2 separate regions of the Homo sapiens genome follow, and region 2 is linked to region 1. The links are contacts of gene promoters, found by promoter capture Hi-C in blood cells and fetal thymus (Javierre and others, 2016). All regions are on one chromosome and are shown on one strand. The core of a region is centred on a gene start or on the middle of the fragment in contact, and the rest is flanking DNA. Distances in the headings are between cores, read along the strand shown. Region 1 holds the start of EFEMP1 (EGF containing fibulin extracellular matrix protein 1). Region 2 holds the start of LOC107985811 (a long non-coding RNA gene).

Region 1 (7,193 bases), core at 1,684-4,183:
ATCTGGAGGTCATTAATGACTTGGGGGAAAACACTAGAATTTTGATAGTAAAAATATTTGATACAATTACCAAAACTCTGTATACTCAAGTAAGGTTTAGGGAGGGTTGTACACCTCCCCTCTGATCTTGTCCAATACTGTGTGGCTTGCTACCAAACTGGCAATGTCTAGGTAACCCACACTGGATACCCCAGAGATAAAGAGAGCAGCTTCCACCTGATAACCTCCCTCTCCTGCAGTCGCTACCACCCTCCCACCTTGAGTCAGCAGGAAAGGAAAGGAGCTTTTCCTCTCCTCCTGAGCTCTGCCTCCTGCTCAAGGACAGAGTCAAAGTTTTAACCCCTTCAGTTTGTAAGTTTTCTCATTCATGAAATTGTATTTGGCCATTTGCTTCTTAGAAGACAGCTGCCTTGGAAGCAAGCTATTAGTATGACTTTAGAGTTGGAGCCTTCAGAGGTAACTGCAATTTGTGTGGTATGATTTGATAAAAACAGAAAAAAAGATTTTTCTCTCCAGATTCCTGAAATTCCACTATGAAAGGTGAAAGTGAAATGCCCAACTTTGAATGAGCAGTATTGGAGATTTCACTAAGTCAATAAGTGAAGAAAAGAGAAGCTATAGATGAAAAAAGAAACCCATAAAAAGGGAGACTTTTTATTATATATTGACAAATTATAGTTGTATATATTAATAGGGTACAAGGTGTTATGATTTTTTAATACAATGTGTAATAATTAAACCAAGCTAATTAATATATCCATCACCTCAAATATTTGACATTTTTTGTGATGAGAACATTTGAAATTTACTCTCTTAGTGATAATGAAATATACAGTACTCAATTATCAGCTTTATTCACGACACCGTGCAATTGAACTTTAAAAAAATCAAACTTTTCCTCTCTTTTTTTTTTAGATGGAGTCTCACTCTGTCACTCAGAGGGATGATCTCAGCTCACTGCAACCTCTGCCTTCCGGGGTTCAAGCGATCATCCTGCCTCAGCCTCCCGAGTAGCTGGGATTACAGGCACGTGTCTAATTTTTGTATTTTTAGTAGAGATGGGGTTTCTCCATGTTGGCCAGGCTGGTCTTGAACTCCTGACCTCAGGTGATCTGCCCACCTTGGCTGCCCAAAGTGCTGGGATTACAGGCATGAGCCACTGCACCCAACCCTTATTCATCCTATCTAATTGAGGCTTACACTCTTTGACTGTTATCTCTCCATTCCCTGCAACCCTAGCCTCTGGTAACCACCATTCTACTCTCTGCTTCTATGAGTTCAATTGTTTTAAGTTACTTTCAGATACTTGAGAACATGTGGTATTTGTGTTTCTACATTTGGCTTATTTCACTGTGCATAATGTTTTCCACTTCCATCCATGGTGTCACAAATGACAGAATTTCTTTTTTAAGGCTAAATAGTATTCCACACATACACACAGACACATAAAATGGAATACTATTCTCTTTTAAATTTTGTATGCCTAATAATTCATGGTTAAAGGACAAGATAATAACTATTTTTGAGTATCCCGCTGTGGAGACACGATCTCCTTTGATCCTTGCAGCAATGTGTAAGGTAAGTGGCATCATCTTCCTTCTATTAATGGTAGAACTGAAGATCAAAGAGAGTGTCTAACTTGCTTAGGGCTACATAGCCAAGTGGTGAAGCTAAACTCAGTCTAGGCTTACTTGATAGTACACTAACATTAAATGTCTAGGAGTAAATATCTAAAACAAACTGTAAGTCTTCTCTATTTACCATACAAATTATTCAAGTGAACTGCCATTTTTGCCTGGCTTGAAAGATACTTTTCAGAAGAATGGGCTCATATACACATGCACGCGCGCACACACACACACACAATGGAATACTATTTAGCCTTAAAAACGCATATATATCTAAAATATATGTGTGTACATATTTTATATATATATGTGTTTATATATATAATATATATTATATTTGTATACACACACACATATATGCCACATTTTCTTTATCCATTTATCCCTTGATGGACACTTAGGTTGATTCCATATCTTGGCAATTGTGAATAGTGCTGCAATAAACATGAAAGTACAGACGTCTCTTCAACACACTGATTTCAAATCTTCCCAGTAAATACCCAGAAATGAGATTGCTGGATCATATGATAATTCTACTTTCAGTTTTTTGAGAAACCTCCATACAATTTTCCATCATGTTTGTACTAATTTACATTCCACCAACAGCATACAAGCATTCCCTTTTCTCCATTCTTGCCAACACTTGTTATCATAAAGGGAGGTTTGAGAGACCATAAAACAAACCCCACCTCACAATTTTGTTAGTGCAAGTTCTATTTGGCCTATTCCCAACACTAAGCACACAGTAGGTGGCAAATATTTGTTGAATGGATGAATTCTCATTTTTCTCCATTTGTGGAAGCAGACACCTCCTCAAAAAAAAAAAAAAATCCGAAAGAAAAGGTAAAGGAAACAGTTCTATGAATGGGGGTTAATTTACTCTCCTAGCATTCACTTATTGGGAAAAAAAGTAACAGCAGTTTCTAGAACCCTCTGGTCTCTGAGGGAGATGCTGTGTTCCCCTCCTCAGAGAAGAAGAAAACGCACTAGAGAGTGGGAGCATCCCCAAGGCTGAAGCGCATCCAGGACATCACATGTCAACGTGTCCTCTCTGGCGTGGGGTCCCCGCGAGTCTGGGAAACGAGGAGCTGGCAAGGGAGGGCAAGCGGGGGCGGCAAAGAGGGCCCCTGGAGCAGGGGGCGCGGACCTCGCTGCGCTGCGCGCTCTACCGCCGGGCTCGCAACGCTGGGCTCAGCGCTCGCGCCTCCCTCAGCTCTCTCCTCCGCCCCCCTTCGCCCTCCCCCTTTCCCTCCCTTTCTCCTCCTCCTCCTGCCGCCGCGGCCGCTGCCGGACTTCGCCAGATCAGACCCACGGGGCTGCCCTCCCCTGCGCACTCCCCTCGCTGCCCGGGCCCGGAGCGCAGCGCGGCCGCACAGGTAGGAGCCCCCAACGGGGGGTCGCCCCGAGCGAGCCCAGTACTCACTGGGCCGCGCGCGGGAGAGTGAGGTGGGGTGAGCTGAGGGGTGTTGAGTACCCGAGAACTGCCCTGGACTGTGCAGGGTGTCTCGGGCAGAGAGGGAGGTGGAGGTGTGCAGCCTCGGAATGCGATCTGTCAGCAAGTGCGAGTACTCGGGTGACATCTGTTGGGATGGGCATGTGTGTGCGCGCCGACAACCAGCCGGCAGGGCTTTGCCCATAAACGTGGTTTTGAAAGTTTAGGGGACCAGTGTGCGAGATTTAAGCCGCACCTGGATTCCATAGGAGCTGGTTAGAAGCTGGGACGCTGAGCAGCTCCAGGGGACCGCCGCGTTAGCTTGCTGTTAAGAAAGGGGACCTCATCTCCCTGCCGGGCCAGGCCGCCCGCCCGAAACTGGTACCTTGGGCTGCGGTGCGATCCCTGGTTCCGGTCCTAGGCAGCCTGAAACCGAAGGTAGCGTGTCGGGGACCCAGACTGATAAGACAAAAGAGAATCAGTCGCTTTGGGCTGCCCCTCCACACAACCTGGGACTTTTAAACAAAGCTGTGCGCAGAGAAAGGCGTGGAAATGCCACTTTGAGAGTTTGTGCTGGGGGATGTGAGAAGCTCTGAGACATGTGAGAAGGTCTAGTATTCTACTAGAACTGGAAGATTGCTCTCCGAGTTTTGTTTTGTTATTTTGTTTAAAAAATAAAAAGCTTGAGGCCAAGGCAATTCATATTGGCTCACAGGTATTTTTGCTGTGCTGTGCAAGGAACTCTGCTAGCTCAAGGTGAGTATACTGGGAAAGCCTTAACGTTCTAGAGAACAGAGTTTTGCAGCCCCACCTCCATCCCCCGGGGTGTGGGACTGGGGGGCAGGAAATGCACCGTCCCCTTTGAAATGGATTACTGTTTTTTCCTTTCGACCCCCTCTTTCTGCAGCCTGCTTTGTAGGTGCAGTATAAAATGCACGCTGAATGTCTTTTGTATGTAAACAGCGTAGCAGGATGGAGTAACGTGAAATGCAATTCTACAGCAGTTTTTACGTCTTTGCTGCCTCGTTCGTTGGCTACCGAGAAGGTTCAGGAGGGGGAGGGGAGATGAGAAAGCAGATTGGAAGTTGAGTATGGTGGAGCCTCAGCCTCTCCCACCCTCCTTTCCTCGCTTGTGCTCACTGCTAAAGTTTTGTTACTTTCCCCGCAGCAGATACTAAACATTAGTTTGTCCTGTATTTTCTTTGAGATTCACAATGTTGAAAGCCCTTTTCCTAACTATGCTGACTCTGGCGCTGGTCAAGTCACAGGACACCGAAGAAACCATCACGTACACGGTAAGGGGTGATGGAATTTGAAATAAGTACGGTTCAGCGGGATTCTGTGACAAAAAAAGACTTTACACACCCCTGCCAGTGTATTTGGGCTATACTCTGCTGAGGGTGATAAATTAAACAACACTTCATTCATGCTTCATATCTAAGATTCGTTGTAAATTGCCCCCTTGATCCTTTCAAAAGTTCATTGGGCTCACCACCTAAGATAGGAACCAACATGTAATCATTTGTGCAGGGCTAAAAATGGGATCCGTTCAAAAACTAAAACCAAAGAAAGTTACATGTTTCCAAAACATTCAACAAATTAATGGGTGTAAGGAACTGGAAAACCTGGACTCCTACCACATGCAGATAAAACCAATACGTGCAGAATAAGACTCAAGTCAAGTAAGAACGTTAAACACCATAAAGACACATGGCCTTCTTTGTGTACATGACATGCATTCTCAAGTAAGTGGCCTTTATTGAATTTATAAAGGCTATATATTCATTCTTTTTGTATAACTTGATAATTCTAATAAATAAAGGCAGACAACAGTTTATGTGTTACCAGGATGCATATTGGCTAAAGTGGTTTTAAAACGTAATGTGTGCAACTCCGTTTTGCATTTTCTAATTAGCGTCTCTGATATTTCCAAGTAATATTTGATTAGTTAGTTGCATAGGTGTAACCAATGTTTAATAAAATATTAAAAAGATCACCTGACCCCTCCCACTGCTACAAATAGTTGTGGTGAGAACAGAGAAGGACAGTACTGACTTCACTTCTGGTGAGTTTGTTTGCACCTCTGTTCTGTGTTTTCTTGTCTTTAATCAGTGTTAGGCAAATGACATTTGTCCTGGATTGGAATATGAAAAGCACATTTTTCTACTGCTCCCAGTTTAAAATTAAGTAATCCTACTCGAAAGAATGTGAAAAATTTTTGAAAAGAAAACTCTTAAAAATGAACTAATGTCAATTACTGATAATAAACATTATCTCACTTTTTGGTACCACATTATCCCTAGAATGTTAGTATTCATCTGGCAAATGTTCCTTTCTGTTGTTCAGATCCACTATAAATAAAATAGCTTAATACAAATATTTTGTTAACTTCATGTTAAATGCAGTTGCTTCCTCTGCTGAAGATAAATTAAGCAAGAAAAATGAAGGCATGTGCTGTTTATCTTAAAATGAAAATGTTTTGTTATTCAGACTAAACTTACTGCCTTCTCAGGGAGCTAAAATTAAATTCACTACCCACTTTTATAATCATCTCATAAAAGATTTTACTTCTTTTCCAGTTGCTTATCTTCTATGCCCTTCCCTTTGCTAATCACCTAAATCTTCCTCATTTTTACCAGAGAAGGTTCCCTGTGGCTTAAACATGATAGTTTTAAGACCACTAACTAGGGTTCATTATTATTGTAACAAATTTTCCAGATATGTTACCCTTTTGTGCTAAGATTGGGCCTATTCTCCTTTAAATTTTGTATGCCTAATAATTCATGGTTAAAGGACAAGATAATAACTATTTCTGAGTATCCCGCTGTGGAGACACGATCTCCTTTGATCCTTGCGGCAATGTGTAAGGTAAGTGGCATCATCTTCCTTCCACTAATGGTAGAACTGAAGATCAGAGAGAGTGTCTAACTTGCTTAGGGCTACATAGCCAAGTGGTGAAGCTAAACTCAGTCTAGGCTTACTTAATAGTACACTGACATTAAATGTCTAGAAGTAAATACCTAAAACAAATTGCAAGTCTTCTCTATTTACCATACAAATTATTCAAGTGAACTGCCATTTTTGCCTGGCTTGAAAGATACTTTTCAGAAGAATGGGCTCGTATCCACATAATAGCCTCATAGTCCTCTTCCATATTAAAGATGGTGTCCATTCAGCTGTTTACTCAACAACTATCTGCATAAGCAATTCTCATCACTATTAAAAGAATTTGTTTGTTTACTAAGAAAATTCAGTCTCCTCTTGGAGAATTTAGCCTGGGAAGACAGTGTTGAAAACTACAAAGTTCCTAAGCAAGGACAAATGATACTATTATACAGATTATACAAATTGCCAAGGAAATAGAAAAGCAAGGAGGTGATTAATGTTGGTGCCAGCATATTAGAGGAGACAGAACTCTGTGCTGGTTCTTGAAGGAAGTGATGACCTTGGTTGGATTGATCTAGAAAGGCTGAAGAGGCACCTGAGTCAGAGAGTGGCATAATCAAAAGCTAGAGCTGAAAGCACCTGAGACCAATCCAGGTGGTGATAAGGTCAGATCAGCTGGAACTGGGTAGTGGGAAGAACCCAGAGATGGTGATGATGAGAGATCTGCAGGTCACTGTGAGGTCTCAGAGAGAGGAGCAACATAACCAAGAGCACAAGAAAGATCATGGGGTCTGTATGCAGCATGTAGAGATGCGGGGCCTTGCCTACTCATGGGCCAGCAAAAGCCTTTCTTAGTAGACATGGTAGAAATGGACACAAAGTCAGCAGAGATGGAAGGAAAATAAGTGGAGCATTCAGCACTGATGTTAAAGTTGGAATCCTGGGTTTCGAAAAAGGTAGTGGTACCTTTAACACTGTTTGGGAAACAAGAAAAAAATTAGTCTGAGAGACAAAGTGAATTTAGTTCTCGCTCCAGTAAGTTTCAGACATCAGTAAAATATCTAAATGGATCTCTGGGCTTCCATTCAGCTATTTCCTTGTCAAGCATCCATTGTGTACATAAGCAGCTCTCAGTTATATTAAAAGAATTTAAGTTTATTTGTTTGTTTACTCCACTTTTGCTCAATCCTTCCTTGGGCTTCTTCCTTACAGTGACTTTCTCAAATGAGCGTCTGATCAGATTGTTT
Region 2 (7,193 bases), core at 1,567-4,066, 160 kb after region 1:
GAAAGGAAATCTGAATATAAACTCTACATCAAGTTAGCGATCCTGATCTTAAGCCTAGCATAGACAGTATGATACTCTATAACTCATTGAGGACCGAGGCAAGAGGATCTCTGAGGCCAGGCATTTATGGGAGGCTCCTTGTGTCATATCAGGGAAGAGAAGCCCTGAATAACCAAGAAACAAAGAAAAAAAAGAGACCTGAATCACTTGCTGTTGGGTTTTTGTTTGTTTGTTTGTTTAATAATTGTAGCAGATGAAAAAGTAGTGGAAAGATCCTAACAGGCAAAGTGCTACCCATTTGCATCTTGTACAGCATTGTTTAAACTCTGAAAACAGGGGGAATTGATTCCTCTGCCCAGATTTCCCCTGATAGTGGCAGTTTAAAAACAAAACAAAACTGGACTTGACTCTCACAAAATATTTTCCTTAAAAGCCTTGCAAAAGATCCTAATGGTTTTCAAAGGCCAGGCCTCAAAAGCAAAATGATTTTGCAAAAGCCAACTCTGGTTTTGTTGAAACTACCATGGCCAAATGAAAACTTCACCCATCTTTCATGAGTTAAAGCAGCAGCAGAGCAGCATACCAAGCAAATGGCAAGGCTACGGTCAATGTAACTTACATTGAGAAAATAATGACAGTTCAGATTTGAAGGAGCTCAGAGTCAAGCTTTATCCCCAAACAGAGACTCATTAAGCACATAGTGTACTAACCACAGCATACCCTACAGGGATAAATTCAGAACTCTTGGCATATGAGATGTTAGGGCTGGAGCAACTCTGAACTTCTTTTACAAAGGCATGAAAAACATGAGAAGCATGCCTCTGAACCTGAGCCAACACATAAGACTGCCATGCCCTCCTGTTTGGGCAAGAAATTGAAAAACACTTAACCTTCGGATGGTTATCTGTCCTCATTATGTTATTCCAATCCGTAAAATTCTGAAGATGGAAAACTAAAGCTAAAATTTGAGTAACTGGGAATAGGGTGAGGAAGACCCTATATCTAAACTCAACTTCACATTGCCAATTACTATCACTAATATTACTACTCTTACCTCTTCTAGCAGTAGACTTCAGTGGGTACTACAGGTTTATTTGCCAAAAAATTGCATAGATATGTTTTGGAAAAAAATACTGTGTTTGAGGAGCAAATGATATGAGGCAACAATGCTTGTTGGAAAAAACACAATGAAAAGAAAAAGGAAACAGCAATCCAAGGAAATTGAAAAACTAGGATAAACAAAGTGAGTGATGAAATCACATAGTGAGGAAATCCATAAAGCAAGATTAGGACATGCACACAGAGAAATAAATATAAAATGGAGAAGGGAAAAAGCAAAGAGCAGACATAAGAAAAATTTTTAAATGACAAAGGAAGAGAAAAGGGCATAGGAAGACAGGGTTAGAGGAAGTGAGGGACTAAGCACTTGTAGGACAAGAAGAACACACTTGCAAACATTTCAAAAGGCACCCAGGTAATGGGACAAAATGATCTTGGAAAATGTTTGTCTTTGAGATGTTTTACATTTGCATTATTTGGTCCTGTATAAATTGCAGCAAATAAGGTATTTTTAATTGTGTTCAAGTACTAGACAATGTAAGTCAGACTTTTTAAACTATCAATGTATAATTATGCCTCAGAACTTTTTCCCCAATAAGCATATAAGCAGTTGAAGTCAATATAAAGTTACTATGATGGAAAAATACAATGAGTATTAAGGAGTCCTGTGGGGGTAATTGTGCATGAAAGAACACAAAAACACCTAACCTTTCCCCTTGGAGAAATATTAGGAATTTCAAATAGAGGAGAACACAGTCTAAGTGTCAAGCAAGCTTAATATCTTGCCCTTATGCGTAATAGAAGCAAAATTAGACTCATACTTAACTGGTCCATTTCTCAAAGAGTAATTATTTCATCATACCATTCTAAAGCCATCTTAATATAGAAATTTTTAACACAGAAACTCAAAGACTGTAGCCAGTAAGCCAGCCACAATGGCACACATATGTAGTCCCAGCTACTCAGAGTATTGCTTGTGCCCAGGAGTTCGAGACTCGCCTGGGCAATGCAGTGAGACACTGTCTCTTAAATAAATAAATAAATAAATAAATAAATAAATAAATAAATAAAGCCTGCAGCCAGTAATGTGAACAGATAAAAAAAATTACAACTTCTAATAATATCTTCCCAAATTTTGAAGCCAGCTTTTCTTTTCTTATTTAACATCTAAAATGTTGTGGTATGCAGAATTTTGGCATGCATTTTAATCTTTGCCCCTGGGATTACTTCTATGGTTATGGTTCATTACATGGTAAAAGGATGTTAATGATCTAATGAAGGTTTCTAATCGCCTGACCCTAAAATAGAGAAATTATTCTGGATTATCCAAGGGGACCCCAAATAATCACATTTACCCTTAAAAGCAGGAGAGGAAGTCAGAGAGATGCAATAGAAAAGGGAGTCAAAGGAATTGAAAGTATGAGAAAGATGTAATGTGCTGTTGTGGGCTCGAAGGTGAAGGGGGCCATGTAGGAGGCATGAGTATAGGAACTGAATTCTGACAACAACCTGAATAAGTTTGTGCTTTAAAATGTAAGTCCTATTATTATTCAGGTATGGTGGGCCAAAAGATCAGAAGACAGTTGTCATTAAAAAGACAGTTTGTTACAGCTGCCAAAAGGAGGGGGCACGCCACACCACACAGGGAAGCACCAGGGTTGGTCAGGACACAAGAATCCTAATTGTGGTTTCCATAGGAAGAAATGGGTGAGGCAGAGTATGAAGGTTTAGAACTGGCTAGTTAGAAAAATTACATTGGGTTCTGGAGAATAGAGGTTTTCCCCACGTGCCTGGTACCTGGGCCCTGGGATAATTGTGCAAGTGGAAAGAGGTCCTGAGTGTGAGTCTGATAAATGAGGTGGTTAGGGTATGGGCTCTGAGTTTGCTAATCTGCATATGAAAGGTACACTCAAAGGCAAGTCATTTACTATCTCTAGGAATTGGCTAGCCCTAGAAGGTACAGGCACGGGAGCGCCAGTAAAGTCCCAGTTGTCAAAGCATCAAAAATACAGAAATAAAAAGGCATGATTAATACCTTGGATACAGCTTGGATACAGATTCTTCCCAATAGCCGCCAAAAAGGAATGCAGCCCTACCAACACCTTGATTTTGGCTTTGTGAGATTCTGAGCAAAGAATCCATGCCACGCCATGCCATGCCAGACTTCTGTTCTACAGATCTGTGAGAAAACAAATGGATATTGTTTTAAGCTGTTAAATTGGTGGCAATTTGTTATGGCAGCAAGAGAAAACTAACACATATGCCAAATCTTCTTTGGGGTATGCTTCTAATTAATTCTCTGGGCATAATATATCCTGCAGTACTTTCTGCCCTTTCACAATTACAATCATACAGAAAAAGGCTAATTAGACAAGCTATGTTTGATGACTATTTTTGAAAGGCTTCCATCAAGTTAAATATCATATGAAAATTCTAATGCTATTCACCATTAGAGTATGGAGAAAAATTAAATCAAGATGTACTTTGAGTTTGTGAAGCTCAAATTATTAAAACTTTAAGCATTTGAAGATTGTGTGAGATATAACAAAGACTGATAATGCAGCACATGTGATCCATTCCTATTAGGCAAAAAGCTAACTGTATTAATATATATATTCAGCCACAACTTCAGATCGAGATAATGTCATAAATTCATGTTTTGGGCCACTCCCCACCCCAAATAAGTTTATAGCAATGAAAGATAAAATAGAAATTTGAAAAAAAATTGTAGCCAAGCTTACAAAAAGACAAACATTTCTGTGGGTCAGAAACCAAATATTCATTCATTCATTTACTTAACAAGTTTTTATTTAGCAACAATGTGATAGACATTGTTCTATACAAAGGATTTTGAGCTGAACAGAATAAAGTTCCTGCTCTTATGAAATTTAGGATCTAACAGAAGAGAATTGTAACAGAAACACAAAGCAATACATTGGTGGATGCAGTAGGCAAAGGCAGACAGGAATTTACATCCTTAAGGGAAATCAAGACTGTAAGCATCCTATGTGAGGTAGAAGACCAAATCCAGTCACACTGCTTGAAATAAGAGACAAGAGTGGATCCCAGCACTTTAGGAGGCCAAGGTGGGCGGATCGCCTGAGGTCAGGAGTTTCAGACCAGCCTGGACAACATGGTGAAACCCCGTCTCTACTAAAAATACAAAAATTAGCCAGGTGTGGTGGCACAAGCCTGTAATCCCAGCTACTCAGGAGGCTGAGGCAAGAGAATCACCTGAACCCAGGAAGAGGAGGTTGCAGTGAGCCACAATCACACTACTGCACTCCAACCTGCATGACAGAGCGAGATTCTATCCAAAAAAAAAAAGAGAGAGAGAGAGAGAGAATGGAAAGGAAGTTGGAAAAAGCTATATTTCTGTACCTTCCTCTTAATGTTGCAGTGAACCTGAAACTTTTCCAATAAAATTGCCTTTTTAAAAAATTATTGGCCGGGCGCAGTGGCTCATGCCTGTAATCCCAGCACTTTGGGAGGCTGAGCCTGGTGGATCACAAGGTCAGGAGTTTGAGACCAGCCTGGCCAATATGGTGAAACTCCATCTCTACTAAAAATACAAAAATTAGCCAGGCATGGTGGCATGTGCCTGTAGTTCCAGCTACTCAGGAGGCTAAGGCAGAAGAATGGCTCGAACCCGGGAGGCAGAGGTTGCAATGAGCTAAGATCGGGCCACTGCACTACAGCCTGGGCGACAGAGCAAGACTCCATTTCAAAAAAAAAAAAAAAAGAAAAAAAAAGTTATTGATTTAGTTTGAGTCTGCATCCACATCAAATTTCATGGTGAATTGTAATCCCTAGTGTTGGAGGTGGGGCCTGGTGAGAACTGATTAGATCACGGGGGTAGTTTCTCATGAATGATTCAGTACCATCCCCTTTGGTACTGTCCTCATGATGGTGAGTGAGTTCTCATGAGATCTGCTTGTTTATAAGTGTGTGACACCTCCCCCCACCTCCTCTCTCTCTCATGTTCCTGTTCCTGCCATGTGAGATGCACCTGCTCCCACTTTGTCTTCCACCATGAGTAAAAGCTCCCTGAGGGCTCCCAGAAGCAGATGCTGCCATGCTTCCTACACAGCCTGGAGAACCGTGAGCCAATTAAACCTTCTTTCTTTATAAATTCCCCAGTCTCAGGTATTTCTTTATAGCAATGTTAAGAACAAACTGATACAGTTAGAAATCCTGGAAATTAAAAATTAGAGTTTAAGTTTTCAAAAACCTTAATAATTGAGATAATGGAATCCAGAATTGATATATTGAAAGAGTACTAGGAATTTACCCAGAACCCATTATGGTGGAATAAAGAGGTGCAAACACATTATAAAAAATATGGAAGATCCATTGGGCATCTCCAACATATATATAATGGGAGCACCAATAAATAGCATTGAGGAAATGGCATAAACTTTTCCAAAATAGAAGAAATACAGTAGCCTTCAGATTAAAAACAACCACCAAGTGCTACACAGAATAAGTGGGCCAAATTTATGCTAAAGTAAAAAATCTATTCTTAAAATACATATTTATATTTAAAATCTCTAGAAGTCTAAATATAAGAACTTATACACGGATTTCCATGTTCCTTAGCAGCTCCAAAACTCAATGGAAGACACACATAAGTAAATTTTGAATTTCCAGTTAAAACTGGTTTGGAAATTGTATCTAACAATGTTAAATTTATCTTGTCTTCCTAGTAATAAATTGCCTATCCATTTCAATGATTCTGTGGAGTAATGATGTTGAAGTTACTCAAAAAGTTAAAATGGAGGAAAAAATAAAGTCAGCCATAGGGGAAATGAAATACTATTAATAAATTACCTGTATTATCTGGAAGAAGGGCAAAGTTTCTATTAACTTTAGATTTTGATAAGTAAATTAGGCATGTTAGAATGTATAGTGTAATTACTAATAGAATAAAACTGGAGTATATAACTACAAAGCTAATAATTTTAAAAAATATTGCCAGTCAATCTGGAAAAAAAGCAAACAAAGAAAAAAATGTAGACCAGGTATGTCAAACAGAAATAAATAAAATAAAATAACATAATTAAATAAAAATATATCAATGGTTACCTTCAATGTAAATAGACTAGATGTTCCAGTGTTAGAAACAAAGATTTTTAACCTGGATTTTAAAAGGACATTGAGAAATTGAAAGTTAAAAGATGCAAAAATCATAAACCATGCAAATAATAACCATAAAAAAGCTGTGTGCACTTATGTTAATATCACACAAAATCAACTTTAAGGGAAAAAAGTGTCTGGCACTGTGGCTCATGCCTGCAATCTCAGCACTTTGGGAGGCCGAGGCACGTGGATCACCTGAGGTCAAGAGTTCAAGACCAGCCTGGTCAACATGGCAAAACCCCCTCTCTACTAAAAATACAAAACATTAGCTGGGTGTAGTGGTGGGTGCCTGTAATCCCAGCTACTTGGGAGGCTAAGGCAGGAGAATTGCTTGAACCCAAAAGGCAGAGGTTACAGTGAGCAGAGATCACGCCATTGCATTCCAGCCTGGGTGACGAGGGCAAAACTCCATCTTAAAATAAATAAATAAATAAATAAATGTATTCTAAATAAAGAGGCTTCCTAATGATAAAATTTCAATTCACCAAGAAGACAAAATTTTAAATTTGTACATACCTAACATGGCCTCAAAATATGTGAAGCAAAAACTGATCTACAAGGATAAATAAAGGAATTCACAATCATACTAGGAGATTTAGCATACCTCTCTCAGTAAATGATAGAACATTTACTATCAATATTAAGACATTTAACATTGGCTGGGCATGGTGGCTCACACCTATAATCCCAGCACTTTGGGAGGCCAAGGCAGGTGGGTCACTTAAGGTCAGAAGTTCAAGACCAGCCTGGCTAACATGGTGAAACCCCATCTCCACTAAAAATACAAAAATTAGCCAGGCATGGTGGCGCATGTCTGTAGTCCCAGCTACTCAGGAGACTGAGGCAGGAGAATTGCTTGAACCTGGGAGGCGGAGGTTGCAGTGAGCTGAGATCACCACACTGCATTCCATCCTGGGTGACAGAGCAAGACTCCATCTCAAAACAACAAAAAAAGACATTTAACATTAACATTAAAAAGATGACATTTCTTCCCC

What was found. The method cuts DNA at HindIII sites, captures the fragments that hold promoters and counts their contacts. A CHiCAGO score of 5 or more calls a contact.
Region 2: a contact is called between a fragment that was not itself captured here and the fragment with the promoter of EFEMP1 in region 1, in 1 of 17 cell types (M1 macrophages). The highest score is 5.4, in M1 macrophages.

What each region holds. Positions count from the first base shown.
Region 1 is chr2:55,919,522-55,926,714 of GRCh38, reverse strand. It overlaps EFEMP1 (EGF containing fibulin extracellular matrix protein 1), which reads left to right and starts at 2,933. Exons shown (of 12, transcript NM_001039348.3): 1 at 2,933-3,004; 2 at 3,776-3,816; 3 at 4,268-4,355. The coding sequence starts at 4,275. RefSeq lists an enhancer at 2,874-3,373. The HindIII fragment of the contact is 8,249 bases long and covers 1-3,744 here.
Region 2 is chr2:55,755,241-55,762,433 of GRCh38, reverse strand. LOC107985811 (a long non-coding RNA gene) reads right to left here and starts at 3,233. Exons shown (of 3, transcript XR_001739192.2): 1 at 3,095-3,233. The HindIII fragment of the contact is 1,963 bases long and covers 1,835-3,797 here.